Linked DNA regions of Homo sapiens: region 1 is linked to region 2. The links are contacts of gene promoters, found by promoter capture Hi-C in human tissues and cell types (Jung and others, 2019). All regions are on one chromosome and are shown on one strand. The core of a region is centred on a gene start or on the middle of the fragment in contact, and the rest is flanking DNA. Distances in the headings are between cores, read along the strand shown.

Region 1 (7,209 bases), core at 1,668-4,167, 710 kb before region 2:
CCTGGTGGAGAGAAGAAGGCATATGTTTGACTGGCTCCTGATTACGATGTTTTGGATGTTGCCAAAAAATTGGTATCATCTAAATTGAGTCCAGCTGGCTAGTTCTAAATATACGTGTATCTTTTCACCATAAAAAAAATTTTTTTTTTGAAAACAGAGGGGAACACTTTAATGCACTCAAAGACTATGAAAAGATGATGGGCCTCCCAGATGATTTCTCCCTGAGAAATCTCTGCCTAGAGGCAAAATAAAGAGGCTAAGTAAGGCAGGATTTTCTACTGTAAAATCTAGAAACAGGACGTCTTCCTCCACCGTTCACATGAAAGTTCATTCATTTCTTCAAAAACCTTTTAATTTGAATGCCTTCTATGTACCAAAAACTATTTTAGGTGCTGGAGATCCAAATTAAGGGTTGAAAAGAATGCAAAGCATGAAGAACATTAGGAGATACGCAGAGAAAGTAGTCACCTGGCGTGGTGGCTCATGCCTGTAATCCCAGCACTTTGGGAGGCCAAGGTGGGAGGATCACTTGAGGTCAGGAGTTCAAGACCAGTCTTGCCAACATGGTGAAACACTGTCTCAAAGCTGGGCACAGTGGCTCATGCCTGTAATCCCAGCACTTTGAGAGGCCGAGGTGGGTGGATCACCTGAGGTCAGGAGTTCGAGACCAACCTGGCCAACATGGTGAAATCCCCATCTCTACTAAAAATACAACAAATTAGCCAGGCGTGTTGGCAGGCGCCTGTAATCCCAGCTGCTCGGGAGGCTGAGGCAGGAGAATCGCTTGAACCCAGGAGGCGGAGGTTGCAGTGAGCCAAGATTATGCCATTGCACTCCAGTCTGGGCAACAAAAGTGAAACTGTCTCAAAAAGAAAAAAAGAAAGAAACCCCAGCTCTACTAAAAATACAAAAATTAGCCGGGCATAGTGGTGCACACCTGTAGTCCCAGCTACTTGTGAGGCTGAAGCAGGAGAATTACTTTAATACAGGAGGTGGAGGTTTCAGTGAGCCGAGATTGTGCCACTGCATTCCAGCCTGGGCGACAGAGCAAAACACCATCTCAAAAAAAAAAAAAAAAGAAAAGAAAAGAAAAAAGAAACCTCTCTTCCTTCCAAGGCCCTGGAGAGTACCTGTTGCTCTCTCTTCCCTAACAGATAAGCTTATTGGCGGGGCGCGGTGGCTCATGCCTTCAATCCCAGGACTTTGGGAGGCCGAGGCGGGTGGATCACCTGAGGTCAGGAGTTCGAGACCAGCCTGGCCAACATGGTGAAACCCCATCTCTACTAAAAATACAAAAATTCTTCGGGAGGCCGAGGCGGGCGGATCACCTGAGGTCGGGAGTTCAAGACCAGCCTGACCAACATGGAGAAACCCCATCTCTACTAAAAATACAAAATTAGCCAGGTGTGGTGGCACGTGCCTGTAATCCCAGCTACCCAGGAGGCTGAGGCAGGAGAATCGCTTGAACCCGGGAGGCGGAGGTTGCAGTGAGCCAAGATTGCACCACTGCACTCCAGCCTGGGCGACAGAACAAGACTCCATCTCAAAACAAAACAAAGAAACCCAACAGATAAACTTCTTAAAATAAAACCTCTCCTACTGTACAGAGTTGACAATAAGCATTTAGAAACTTTTACAGCCATTTGACCTGGCCATGACATCCAAACCTGGAACCAGTGGACTTGTCAGGTTGAACAGACTATAGACCAATCTGGTTGTTGCCCAGCTCTAGGGATGCATTGCATCTGGTGCAAGCTGCATACTAGTCATGAACAGTAGGACCCTGTTGTCAATCTATGACAGATTGAAAATTAAATATGTGCTTCATCATAGACGTTTGAAAAGCACTGGTTTATACCACACTGTTCTGCTTCATCTCTTATTCAGTCTTCAAGCCATTTCCATTTGGTATCTGCCCTTCACCTGCTGAAAATGCCACAGGAAAGGTCACTGACCTTCATAGGGCCAAATTCAGTGTATTATTTTTTTGTCCCCATTATATGTGACATCTCTGCAGCATTTGGCACCCTCTGCTTTGTAACATCACAGAAGGTATGTTCTCCTCCTACCTCTTTGACAATTCTTTCCTTTTTCTAGGCTTCTCTTCCTTTGCCCACTCTTGGACTGTTTCTCTTCTTCTACGATACTCACAAATTTTTGCTGGGCGTCTTATTGATGCTCCATGGTTTTAACTGTATGCTACTGATTTCCAAGCTCTATTTCCAGGGTTATAAACTTGATGGTATGTTAATGTGCTTAAGACAAAATAAATCAGTTTAAAGGTGCTTTTTTTTTTCAAGATAAGCAGAGAATCAGTTTTTTTTTCATTTATCTATTTAAAAAGTGCTTATTTATTTTTTAAGAGAAGGGGTCTCACTCTGTCACCAACGCTGGAGAATAGTGTTGCACTAAGCAACACTATTTTTAATGTAAAAAATGTATATTATTCAAAAACATTACTCTGAAGAGGAGTTCGTAGTCTTTACCAGATGCCCAAAGAATCTTTGGAAAAAGGTTAGGAAGGCCTGTAGAAACTCATGCCTCCATGACAATACCCATGTGGAACACAGAGCTCCCAGTTGGTTTTTACTTTGGCCCTAGGCCTTCTCCCAAATGATTTAATGGAAGTGGTGATAAAAAGGCCCTTTTTGTTCTTGATATTAAGGAGATTCTTAGTGAAGAAAGCCTGTTGGAACATTTCAAATAACAATTCTAGGCTGGGCTCAGTGGCTCATGCCTGTAATGCCAGCTCTTTGGGAGGCCAAGGTGGGTGGATCACTTGAGGCCAGGAGTTCAAGACCAGCCTGGCCAACATGGCAAAACTCTGTCTCTACTAAAAATACAAAAATCAGCTGGGCGTGGTGGTGCACGCCTGTGGTCCCAGCTACTTGGGACGGTGAGGCATGAGAATCGCTTGAACCTGGGGGACAGAGTTTGCAATGAACCAAGATGTAGCCACTGCACTCCAGCCTGGGGGACAGAGTGAGACTCTGTCTCAATAAATAAATAAGTAAATAAATAAATACTCGATATTTGAAGAGAAATGCCATTTATTTCCTCTAAGTGCTGTTTAACACTCACTTCTAGGCTGGGTGCGGTGGCTCATGCCTATAATCCCAGCACTTTGGGAGGCTGAGGTAGGAGGATTGCTTGAGCCCAGGAGTTCAAGACCAGCCTGGGCAACAAAGTGAGACCCCATCTCTAAAAAAATAAAATATAAAATTAGCCAGGCATAGTGGTGGACTTATAGTCCTAGCTACTCAGGAGGCTGAGGTGGGAGGATCACTTGATCCCAGTTTTAGGTTGCAGTGAGCTGTGATGGCACAACTACACTCTGGCCTGAGTGACAGAGCAAGACCCTGTTTCAAAAAATAAATAAATAATAAAATAAAACTCACTTCTAGAAAATCTTTTCTCTTTTGGATCCGTTTTTTTTCTTGCATTCCGTTACTGCTTATTCAATTGCTTATCACTGTATACTTATTAGTTTACAGGTCTATTTTGTCTCTGCAACTGGATTATAAAAGTGCCCTTGAGAAGTTTATTTCTCAGGATGACCAGGACAGTGTTCTACAAATAGACACTCAATAAATGGTTCCTGATGAGTGCAAGGCCTCTCAGAAAAGTGAACTTATTTATCATAAAAGCAAGATGAAAAAACAATATGGTTAATTACAAGGAGGTAAAAAAGAGGAATCTTTGATTCTGGATGGTACTTGCGAAAGGAATTGTGTATTTATAAACATTGTGTTGTAAACATTGTGTTTATAAATAGCTTGTATTTACTAGTGAGGATTAAAAATCATCTTTAATAGAACGTGATCTTTTAAATGACCTGAAAATTCCATTTTCTATCACCAGCGAAGAGTAGGCCAGGTTTTCTCTAACGAGCAGATTGTGTGATAAAAGAACATTGCTAAATTAATTTCTTTCTAAAATATTTGATACAGGGGCTGGGTGTGGCGGCTTGTGCCTGTAATCTCAGCACTTTGGGAGGCCAAGGCAGGTGGATTACTTGAGGTCAGAGTTCGAGACCAGCCTGGTCAATATGGTGAAACCCCGTCTCTACTAAAAATACAAAAATTAGCTGGGCATCATGGTGGATGCCTGTAATCTCACCTACTTGGAAGGCTGAGGGAGGAGAATCACTTGCATCTGGGAGATGGAGGTCGCAGTGAGCCAAGAGCAGGACACTGCACTCCAGCCTGGGTGACAGAGCAAGACTCCGTCTCAAAAAAAAAAAAAAAAAAATCAAGTTTCTGAAAATTCCACCAGATGGGGAAATGCTGACAATATGCTAGTTAAATTTAGTATTCATCTCAATGTAGAATCTGTATTAATCTCCATGATATTAAAAATGCATAAAAAAATTTGATAGAGGAATTTGGCCATGGCTTATATGTGGACAGACAAGTTTTACAGTAAAAGCAAAAGCATAGAATAACAGAAAATATAACCATGACTTTTTAAACTATAGGATATTCCATTTCAAAGATGCTATAGTTATGGTAGTTTTAAAAATTTCTTATCTATTGAAACCATTGTTACATGTTGCTGCAAAGCGGCTTACAAATCTAAATTCAGATACGACACATGATTTTCCTAGTCAATGATTTATTTCATGCTATCAAAATGTTATCTTCATTAAAAATGTTTTTAATGCCGGGCATGGTGGCTCACGCCTGTAATCCCAGCACTTTGGGAGGCCGAGGCGGGTGGATCATGAGGTCAGGAGATCGAGACCATCTTGGCTAACACGGTGAAACCCCGTCTCTACTAAAAATACAAAAAATTAGCCGGGTGCGGTGGCGGGCGCCTGTAATCCCAGCTACTCAGGAGGCTGAGGCAGGAGAATAGCATGAACCCGGGAGGTGGAGCTTGCAGTAAGCCGAGATAGCACCACTGCAGTCCAGCCTGGGCAAAAGAGCGAGACTCCATCTCAAAAAAAAAAAAATGTTTTTAATATATTTTTCTTTCCACATTTATAAATTTCCTGAGCCAATTCTGAAGCTTAAATGATCCTAAATGTCTACAATACTAAAAATATAGTCAATATTTTCCAAATAATTATTAAAGCTCTGCATTCTTTCATTTAATTTTGAAATTAATCAAGTCCTGTCATTTCTCCTACATACCTCTCAAATCCACCTACCCCAAATGTATTTGCCACTGCCTTGATTTAGGCATCTTAATCGCCTCCAATTTCTTTCTCCTTACACATATTCTTATCATGGTCATAAAACAATCAGGTTTGTGTTTCAGAAAGATCATACCACTCCTTTGCTTAAAACCCTGCACCAGCTCCTTAGCACAAAATTTCACATGGTATCCAATGCCCTCAATGATCTAGCTCATACCCACCTCTCCTGCACTTCTCTCATCACAGTGCCTCACGCTTGACTCAATAGCAGCTGTAATGAAACATTTGCAAGGCATCTGCGGTTTTTTTTTTTCTCTAGGACAATCCTTTCATACAGATTTCTGGTGAACTCTATCATCCTTTACAACCCAGCTCAAACATTACTTCTGGAAGGCCTTCTCCAAGCCCATTTCAACTCCAAAGTTAAGCACTCCCTCTTCTAAATCTAGTAGTAACATATGGTTGTATTTATCACATTGTATTACATCATAATTATTTGTTTATGTGCTTGCTTGCCTTCCCTATATCATGGAAAGCTTTTTGAGCCTAAGAAAGGTGCTTCGTGTTTGTTGAACTGAACTGAATTTGATCTAATGGTCTGAGCTGAGTAATTGGGAAACAGATGGGATGTTTCCAGAGTGATTCATAGTAGCCAGGATGATCATGTTTCTCCACAGCAAACATAAATCATGTTTCTTTAATCACAAGGATTACCAGACTTTGCTGGAATAGCAAACAAAATGCAAACTCTCTCTTAGTTAAATGAAGACTAAATATCCACGAGCTAATTAGTCAATGTATGATCTGCATAATTTGAGCCAAATTAGTAAATATCACTTTTTCATCAAATATAGATTGAGTGCTTCTGGCTTAGTGCAAAATGTATACATTATGTTTTATCTTACATCTTTATATGAAAGGGACAAAGTAGATTAGAGGATGGATTATTTACACTGTGCACCAGGAACTAGCAACTATTAAACTTTATCATACAAATACAAGGGGAAAAGTAGAATCCTGATATATTGGAAACTATTTATTTTGTAAAATAATTCCTTTGGGGAACAGTAAAAATCATGTCTATTATCAATTCCCAGTGTAACAAAAAACAAAAATGTCTATTATCAATTCCCAATGGCACAATAAACAGAAGAAAATTTTGTGGTTTCAGATCTTAATGGTAGATGGCACTAAGTCATGCAGCGAGCACTTAGGTAGGTGCAATGCATAATTTTCAAGATTCAAATCTGTTGTGACTAGAGCCACAACAGTTCTTTCTGGGATGAAAAATACCAAGGAATCTGCACAAACAATATTTGAGTAAAGTTTCCCTCTTACCAGCATATATTGATAACTTAAAACCAGTTTTAACTACAGGAATCTTCCTATTAGTCATAATAGCTTAACACAAGTAATTTGTAGTGTTTAAAGCTAACTCATGATTTAGCTTTCTTATTTGTTCTTTTCTATATTTTGCAGAGGTTCTCTATAAAACATGTTATTTTTGAAATAAAAATAAATACAATTTTCTGAGAGTTAGCCAGAAGAATATCATTCATATTACTTAATGATAGTAATCATATCAGTTAGCCCATTTTTAGGATGTTCTTATGAGAATATAATTTTTTTTTTTTTTTGAGATGGAGTCTCACTCTGTCACCCACGCTGGAGTGCACTGGCATGATCTCAGCTCACTGCAAGCTCCACCTCCCGGGTTCACCCCATTCTCCTGCCTCAGCCTCCTGAGTAGCTGGGACTACAGGCACCCGCCATCACGCCCAGCTAATTTTTTGTATTTTTTAGTAGATCTGTCTGCCTCGGCCTCCCAAAGTGCTGGGATTACAGGCGTGAGCCACCGCGCCCGGCCTAGGCTGTGTTTTTAACCCAAGGGTCATTTTCTTTTTTCTTTTTTTCTTTTTTTGAGACAGAGTCTCTCTCTGTCGCCCAGGCTGGAGTGCAATGGTGCAATCTCGGCTCAATGCAACCTCTGCCTCCTGGGTTCAAGCGATTCTCCCACCTCAGCCTCTTGAGTAGCTGGGATTACAGGCGTTCACCACCACGCCTGGCTA
Region 2 (6,677 bases), core at 1-2,500:
CCAGGTGGGTCATAAAGACCTCACCAAATCAGTGGAATTTCCTTCACTCTCTAGGATGTGGGCTGATGTGAAGTAAAAGGTGAGGGTAAATAGTGCTCAGTGGCCCTGAATTCAGAAAGGATCTGGGGTGACTCTGCTACATCAGCTACGTCCCAGGGTCAGAGAGAACCCGGGCCAGGCAAGCGGCGCACCTGCTGCAGGTTGTTCTGGAAGTTGAGGAAGGCCAGGTCTCCCTTCACCTGGCGGATCACTTCCATGGTCAGTGCCTTTTCTTCATGGATGATGGCCAAGTGCAGGAACCTGTGGGGAAGAGAGGGAAAAACCCCAGGGGTGGTGAGTGCACCGCGTGGGGCCCAGGGAGGCGCGGGCTGCGGGGGATTGCGCAAGGCCGGGGTTTCTGGAGGCCGAGGCCGCGGTGTTTTCCGCGAGGTTATTATGAGCTGAGTGTTCCTGGCAGGCGCCCAGGGACTTTCCGCCCCCCTCCCCCCGCGGCCCCGGCGGGCGCCGGCCAGACCGCCCCGCCCTCCCGCCAGCTCGGAACGCCCTGTACTTCCCCTCCCGGCTGCTCGGCGCCCGCCAGCGGCCAGAAACTCCCGCCCCGCCTTATGCAACCGGGGACTTCGCGTCCCCGCTGCCGCCCCGCCCCCGGCCTAGAGGACGGGTCTGGGGGGAGGGGGCGTGTGGCGACGCTGCCATCCACCAGGGCCCAGCCGCCGCCCCTCCGAGTTGGGCCGGTGCCCCGCGCGGCCCTGCAGCCCTGCAGCGTTCGGGGCGGTGCAGGAGCCCCGGGGTGCCGCGGCGCCCGCCCGGCTGCATCGCTGGTCCCCCGGCTCGGGCTCCAGGCCCGGCGCCTCCCACCCCCAGGCCGCGCGCGTCCCGCCCTCCCGACGACCCCCAGCCCCGGGCCTCCGCCACTTACGAGTCCCCGTCCTCGGTGAGCTGCTGCTTCCAGGGCTCCGAGCCGCGCGGCACCTCCTGCGGCTCGAGGCGGATCTCCTGCAGCTCCTTGACCATCTGCTCGTACTCCTCGTCTTTCATGGAGTCCAGGCCGCTGTCGTGGCGGTCGTCCAGTAGCCGCTCCTTCTTCAGCCCGTCGCGGGGGCCCTCCATGGCCCACTCCTGGGGGCGCTCGGCCGCCTGGAACATGGCGCGGACGAGCTGCGGGCGCTGCTGCGGGTGCGCTGGGCCGCGGGCTGCGCGCTGCTTCCTCGCTGGGGCGCTGGCGGGCGGGACGGCGGCACGGACTGCTGTGGGCTCTGCAGCGCCGCCGCGGCGCCCTATAAACGCTGGCTGGGGATTTCTCTGGGGCGGGGTCAGGCTCGGGGAATTTCCAAGCCAGTCAGACCAGAAAAAGAGAACTGGCTTCGTCCTCTGCTAGGGGGAAAAAGAAGCCTAAACCCTGAGCTGGGGTTCATCGGAGAAACTCCCTGCGATGAGCCACTAGGGTCACGGACAGGGAACTTTTTGATGAGCGCCGAGTGGCTGGAAAGTCCTTCCGACCAGGCCCCCTCCCCCCGGTACTTCCCTGCAGCCTGCACCCTGTAATCCTGTCCCTCTGCAAGTGAGCCTTCTTTCCCTGGGGTTTCCCACGATCGATTTGAATTGGGGTCGTCGGCTGCTGAGATCCCAAGGACGCCGACCTGATGGGCGGTCCCTCTTTGGGGTTTGCCAACCTGCCGGTCCTTTCCGTTTTTTGATCTTTTGAAAACGCAAGAGTGGAAATGATGGCTGGGCGTAGGGATTTGCTTTCCCCAGACTTCTAAGGGGAAGGACGCACTGTGGTTAGGGGGCTGCAGGCCGCGCCGGTGTTTCTGCCTATACCAGGCTCTTTGCAGCAAAGGAACTTTTAGCTTCGCCCCCACCCCCCCACGCACCCCCGCCAGGTAGAAGTTGTGAAAGCTTTGGAGGAGTGAAAAGCCTAAATCCTTGGAGAACTCTCAAATCACTTCCTAGGGATGAACAGCCCTGTTGACTGGGGGAGGGGCAAACGCTCCCTGTATGGGGAAACTGCTGAATAGGACCATGATTTTTTTTGTTTCCCAAGTAAAGCAAGGTGTTAATGTTTGTAGTGGTGGTTGTGGATACCTTGCAATAGCAGAGTAGCTATTGTGTTCATAAGTAGCTATTCGTTTATGCTATCTGACCTACATTGTGCTCCCGCAGAAAAAGGATCGTGAGCCTACTTCTGGGCACCCAAATTCGAGGAGAACTTAGAGAAGGAGGCTGAAGAATGAGTTTAGTTAGTGCCTTAACCGCGATTGGACCTTAAGGACCACTAAGAAAGTAGTTGCCAGGCATCCTGCGGGAGGCTCAAGGTAGTCCCATCCTGCCCGCCCCTCCTTGCTCTCTTGTCCTGGGGGACAGTAGCAGTTGGACCCATTCACGCCACCTGGGTAGAAAGGGGTTTCGGCTCACTATGCTCTGGTTTCACCTGCAGAAATATAATTTATGCTCTCCACTCCACCTCCACCTCCAAGCCTGCAAGCCATGGACTGAATTCATCTACTTGGTAGAATTGGTACAGGCAAAATAAAGCAAACTTCGGTCAGAGCTCTTCAGAATTAGTCCCAGGAGGCCTCTGTAGTTCTGCAGAGATTTCTGGTGATTATTGCAATCATCTTTACCTTGACTGGCCTTGTACTAACCAATCCTTCCCCTCTCTTCGTATCTCCACCCCTCCCCTAATATTAGAATGAAAGAAATCTGACTCGATAGAGAGAGACCAAGTATGAAGGGAAAAAAATTAAAATCAGATAGACCCTCCAGGGTAATAATGATCACATGTTACAATGAAAACTTCCCAGGGATAGACACCATTGTCTCTGCAGGTTTATGATATGCAAATCTACAATGATTGAGGCAAGGTGAAACAGTGACTGCAATGGGACATCTCAATTCCAGGTTCTATCTTTACTTGACTGCACATTAGTTGGAGAGGTCAGTTAACTTTTTTGTGGTATACTTAACTTTTATAATAAGATTAGATTGAATGTTACTTAAGGTCTTTTCTAGCTTAAAAGTCATATTGCTTGTCTACAAATGCATGCCTAACTCTCCTTTGTAAGGGTGACCATGGCTCTTGGAAATGTCAGGGTATAAATTTTTGAAAGAATTCCAGCGCCTTATGTACCACATTGTTCTCAGAACTAATCTTGTAAGATAGATATTGTTCCTACTTCCCTAAAAAGAAACTGAAATGCATAGAAATTTACCCAGGAACCCCTTGGCAGTATATTAATCATTTGGCCAAAGCAGTCTTAGTATTAACACTTTTGAAAACACGCTGTGAAAATCAGACTGACTACACTATAATTTGGAATGTACTCAAAAGTATTTTCTACTCCAACTGTTAGGGAAAATAAAGGGTGGGTGTCCCCTGACCCCCATCTGGGGATAGTCACTTCTTTTAAACAAGTACAGAAACATCAAACTCTAAATGTCCCAATTATAGAGGATACATCAGAAGAAGATATTTGGCTTCAGGTATAAAAATGGTTATAAAAAATAAAAATATCTGAGGAATAAGGTTTTTTTGCACCACCTTCTATGGTTTTATATTTCTGGTAGCCTTCAGGATCTTGGTGTTTATTCCTGATTGTTTTGTGTGACACCTAGTGGTAAGAGTAAGGCACAGGCGTTCCTTGATTTGTCATAGTGCCTTTTGCAAAAATTGGGAGGTGCTGAGCCTTGATGACTTGTCCCTACAGTGGAGATTTCCAAGGAGGTACCTATTGTTTTCCTGCGACTCTGGGAAACAGTTTTGAATAATGTGATCCAACAGGTTTTCTCCCCATCATCTATAGCGCTATATGGTTTAAGTCAACAAACATTACAACGTGGGTGAAAAAGAATATACACTTGGAAATTAGAACCATGAGCAGACTGGGCAGAAGACAACAAGAGGGTCTGGTTTTGATTTAGAAAGACCTTTATGGGCCAGGAGTTGTGGCTCACTGCTGTAATTTCAGCACTTTGGGTTGCTGAGGCAGGAGGATTGCTTGCCACCCAGGAGTTGGAGACCAGCCTGGGCAACAAGGCTAAACTCTTGTCTCTACAAAAAATATAATTAGCAGAGTGTGGTGGCAGGTGCCTGTAGTCCCAGCTACTCCAGAGGCAGAAGTGGGAGAATTGCTTGAGCCTGGGAGGTGGAGTTTGTAGTGAGCCATGATGGCACAACTGCACTCCAGCTTGAGCAACAGACTGAGACCCTGTCTCAAAAAGAAAAAAAAGAAAAAGAAAGACCTTTATGGACCCTTCAGCACTCAGATTTTTCTCCTCCTCATTGTCAAACATTCTAGCTAACATAACCGTTAAAAAAAATGTTAAAACTGTAGGCTGTGCGCAGTGGCTCACGCCTATAATCTCAGCACTTTGGGAGGCTGAGGCAGGTGGATCATGAGGTCAGGAGTTCGAGACCAGCCTGGCCAACATGATGAAACCCCGTCTCTACTAAAGATACAAAAAATTAGTCGGGTGTGGTGGTGCAGATGCTGCTTAGGAGGCTGAGGCAGGAGAATCACTTGAACCGAGGAGGCAGAGGTTGCAGTGAGCCGAGATCGCGCCATTGCACGCCAGCCTGGGCAACAGGGTGAGACTCTGTCTCAAAAAACAAAACAAAACAAAACAAAATACTTTAGATAACTGATTTTTAATGTTATTTGGCCTTTTTAATGCATAAGGCAAAATAATAAGTTACACCTCAAAGCTGCTTTGTATTTTGGCCCAGGACGCAGCCGTAGGAAATGACAGGACGGCCAGTGATGCTCCAGGAGCACCCCCATGGGAAAAGGAGCATCGCCAGGGCCTGGTTTGGCTGCAGGCACTTCAGGCACTCCTCCTGCATGGAACAAGCACAGTATGGACAAAACCTATTGCCTGAAGTGCCATGGAGAGAGTCTACAAGTTCAGCCAGGTGGTCCAAAATCCTCAGGGCAGGGTGGCCTGTGTCAACTGGCCTGGCCAATTAAAACTAAATTGTTTTGGCTACAGCAAATTCAACTCTGGAATCAGGCTACCTATTGCTCAGTGCAGCTAGGCTGGAAGAAAGACGAGCCATGACAGAGTTCCTGAAGAGCAAGGCAGGTGCACTCCCAACTGGCAGCCCCACTGTGAAATTCTAAATATTCTGCTTTCAGTCTCAGGTTGTCTTCTTTCTTGCTATCGTGGTAGCAACTGTCTGCATCCTCTTCAGAACAGGGAGCCCCCAAGCTATGGATCTTTTCCCATAGAAAAACAAGGCTGGGGGCGGTGGCTCCGACCTATAATCCCAGCACTTTGGGAGGCTGAGGCGAGCTGATCACCTGAGGTCAGGAGTTCAAGACCAGCCCGGCCAACATGGTGAAACCCCATCTCTACTCAAAATACAAAAATTAGCCAGGCGTGATGGCACATGCCTGTAATCCCAGCTACTCGGGAGGCTGAGGCAGGAGAATCACTTGACCCTGGGAGGTGAAGGTTGCAGTGAGCTGAGATCGTGCCATTGCACTCCTGCCTGGGCAGCAGAGAGAGACTCTGTCTCAATTAAAAAAAAAAAAAAGGAAAAACAGCTGTCAGAACCTTCATTTGTAGTGAAGTGAAAATAAGACCGTCAAATCCTTAATGTGTTTCCTTTGCTACAAATTCTGCAATTTAATGGAGATCAAAGCTTTAAAGGATCTCAAACTCAAAATACTTACGCATAGGGAGCAGGCAGATTTCACAGATGAGTGAAACAGACCATTTGAGTCTGAAAGGAGTGGGATCTCCAACAGCTTAGGTCAGGGTGTGTACTTCCCTCATACTTAGCTCAGACAACTTTTGGCATGTAGCACCTTCAGTTCAGTAGTGACCTTCTATTGTTAAAGAAATAAAAAAAATTGGCCCAGCTCCGTGGCTCATGCCTGCAATCCCAACACTTTGAGAGGGTGAGGCAGGAGGATCACTTGCGTTTAGGAGTTTGAGACCAGCCTGGGCAACATAGTGAGACCCCATCGCTATAAAAATAAAAATAAAAAAATTAACCAGGTGTGGTGGCATACACCTGTAGTCGCACCTACTTGGGAGACTGAGGTGGGAGGATTGCTCGAACCTGGGACGTTGAGGCTACAGTGGGCCATGACTGTGTCACTGAGCTCCAGCCTCAGCAAAAGAGTGAGACCTTGCCTCAAACAAACATAAAAACATTATGAAAACTAAACACAATGCATTTCTGCATCTATTGGCTAAACAGAGCCTATAAGCTCTGAGTTTACAACCTCTTTTTCAGCCAAGGTATGATGTTTTAATTGTGCTTTGCAAGAGGCACAACCTTCTGCTCTTGGCATCATGGGTTCTCTGCTCCTGTGTAACAGGAGACTGGGACAGTGTGTCCATCCATGATGCGCAGGGCTGCTCCTGCCAGGCAGGGTTAGGATTAGGGGCTCTAACCTCTGAAAAGTGAATTTTTCCTCCCTCAAACCAAGTATTTATTTGTTTTGTTTGTTTGTTTTTGAGACAAACCAAGAGTTTTGCTCTTGTTGCCCAGGCTGGAGTGCAATGATGTGATCTTGGCTCACTGCAACCTCTGCCTCCCGGGTTCAAGTGATTCTCCTGCCTCAGCCTCCTGAGTAGCTGGGATTGCAGGCACCCGCCACCATGCCCGGCTCATTTTTTGTATTTTGGGTAGAGACAGGGTTTCACTATGTTGGCTAGGCTGGTCT

What was found. The method cuts DNA at HindIII sites, captures the fragments that hold promoters and counts their contacts. A contact is called where the count stands out against the background at its distance.
Region 1: a fragment that was not itself captured here is called in contact with the fragment with the promoter of NFKBIA in region 2 in 1 of the 25 tissues and cell types used here (dorsolateral prefrontal cortex).

Annotation. Positions count from the first base shown.
Region 1 is chr14:34,694,562-34,701,770 of GRCh38, forward strand. LOC107984628 (a long non-coding RNA gene) reads right to left here and starts at 6,779. Exons shown (of 3, transcript XR_001750947.2): 1 at 5,362-6,779; 2 at 1. It also overlaps the pseudogene RPL23AP8. The HindIII fragment of the contact is 4,852 bases long and covers 492-5,343 here.
Region 2 is chr14:35,403,499-35,410,175 of GRCh38, forward strand. NFKBIA (NFKB inhibitor alpha) reads right to left here and starts at 1,251. Exons shown (of 6, transcript NM_020529.3): 1 at 920-1,251; 2 at 192-300. The coding sequence starts at 1,146. RefSeq lists enhancers at 1-52, 83-132, 1,237-2,108, 1,313-1,712, 3,690-3,749 and silencers at 333-922, 1,073-1,242. The HindIII fragment of the contact is 5,540 bases long and covers 1-3,771 here.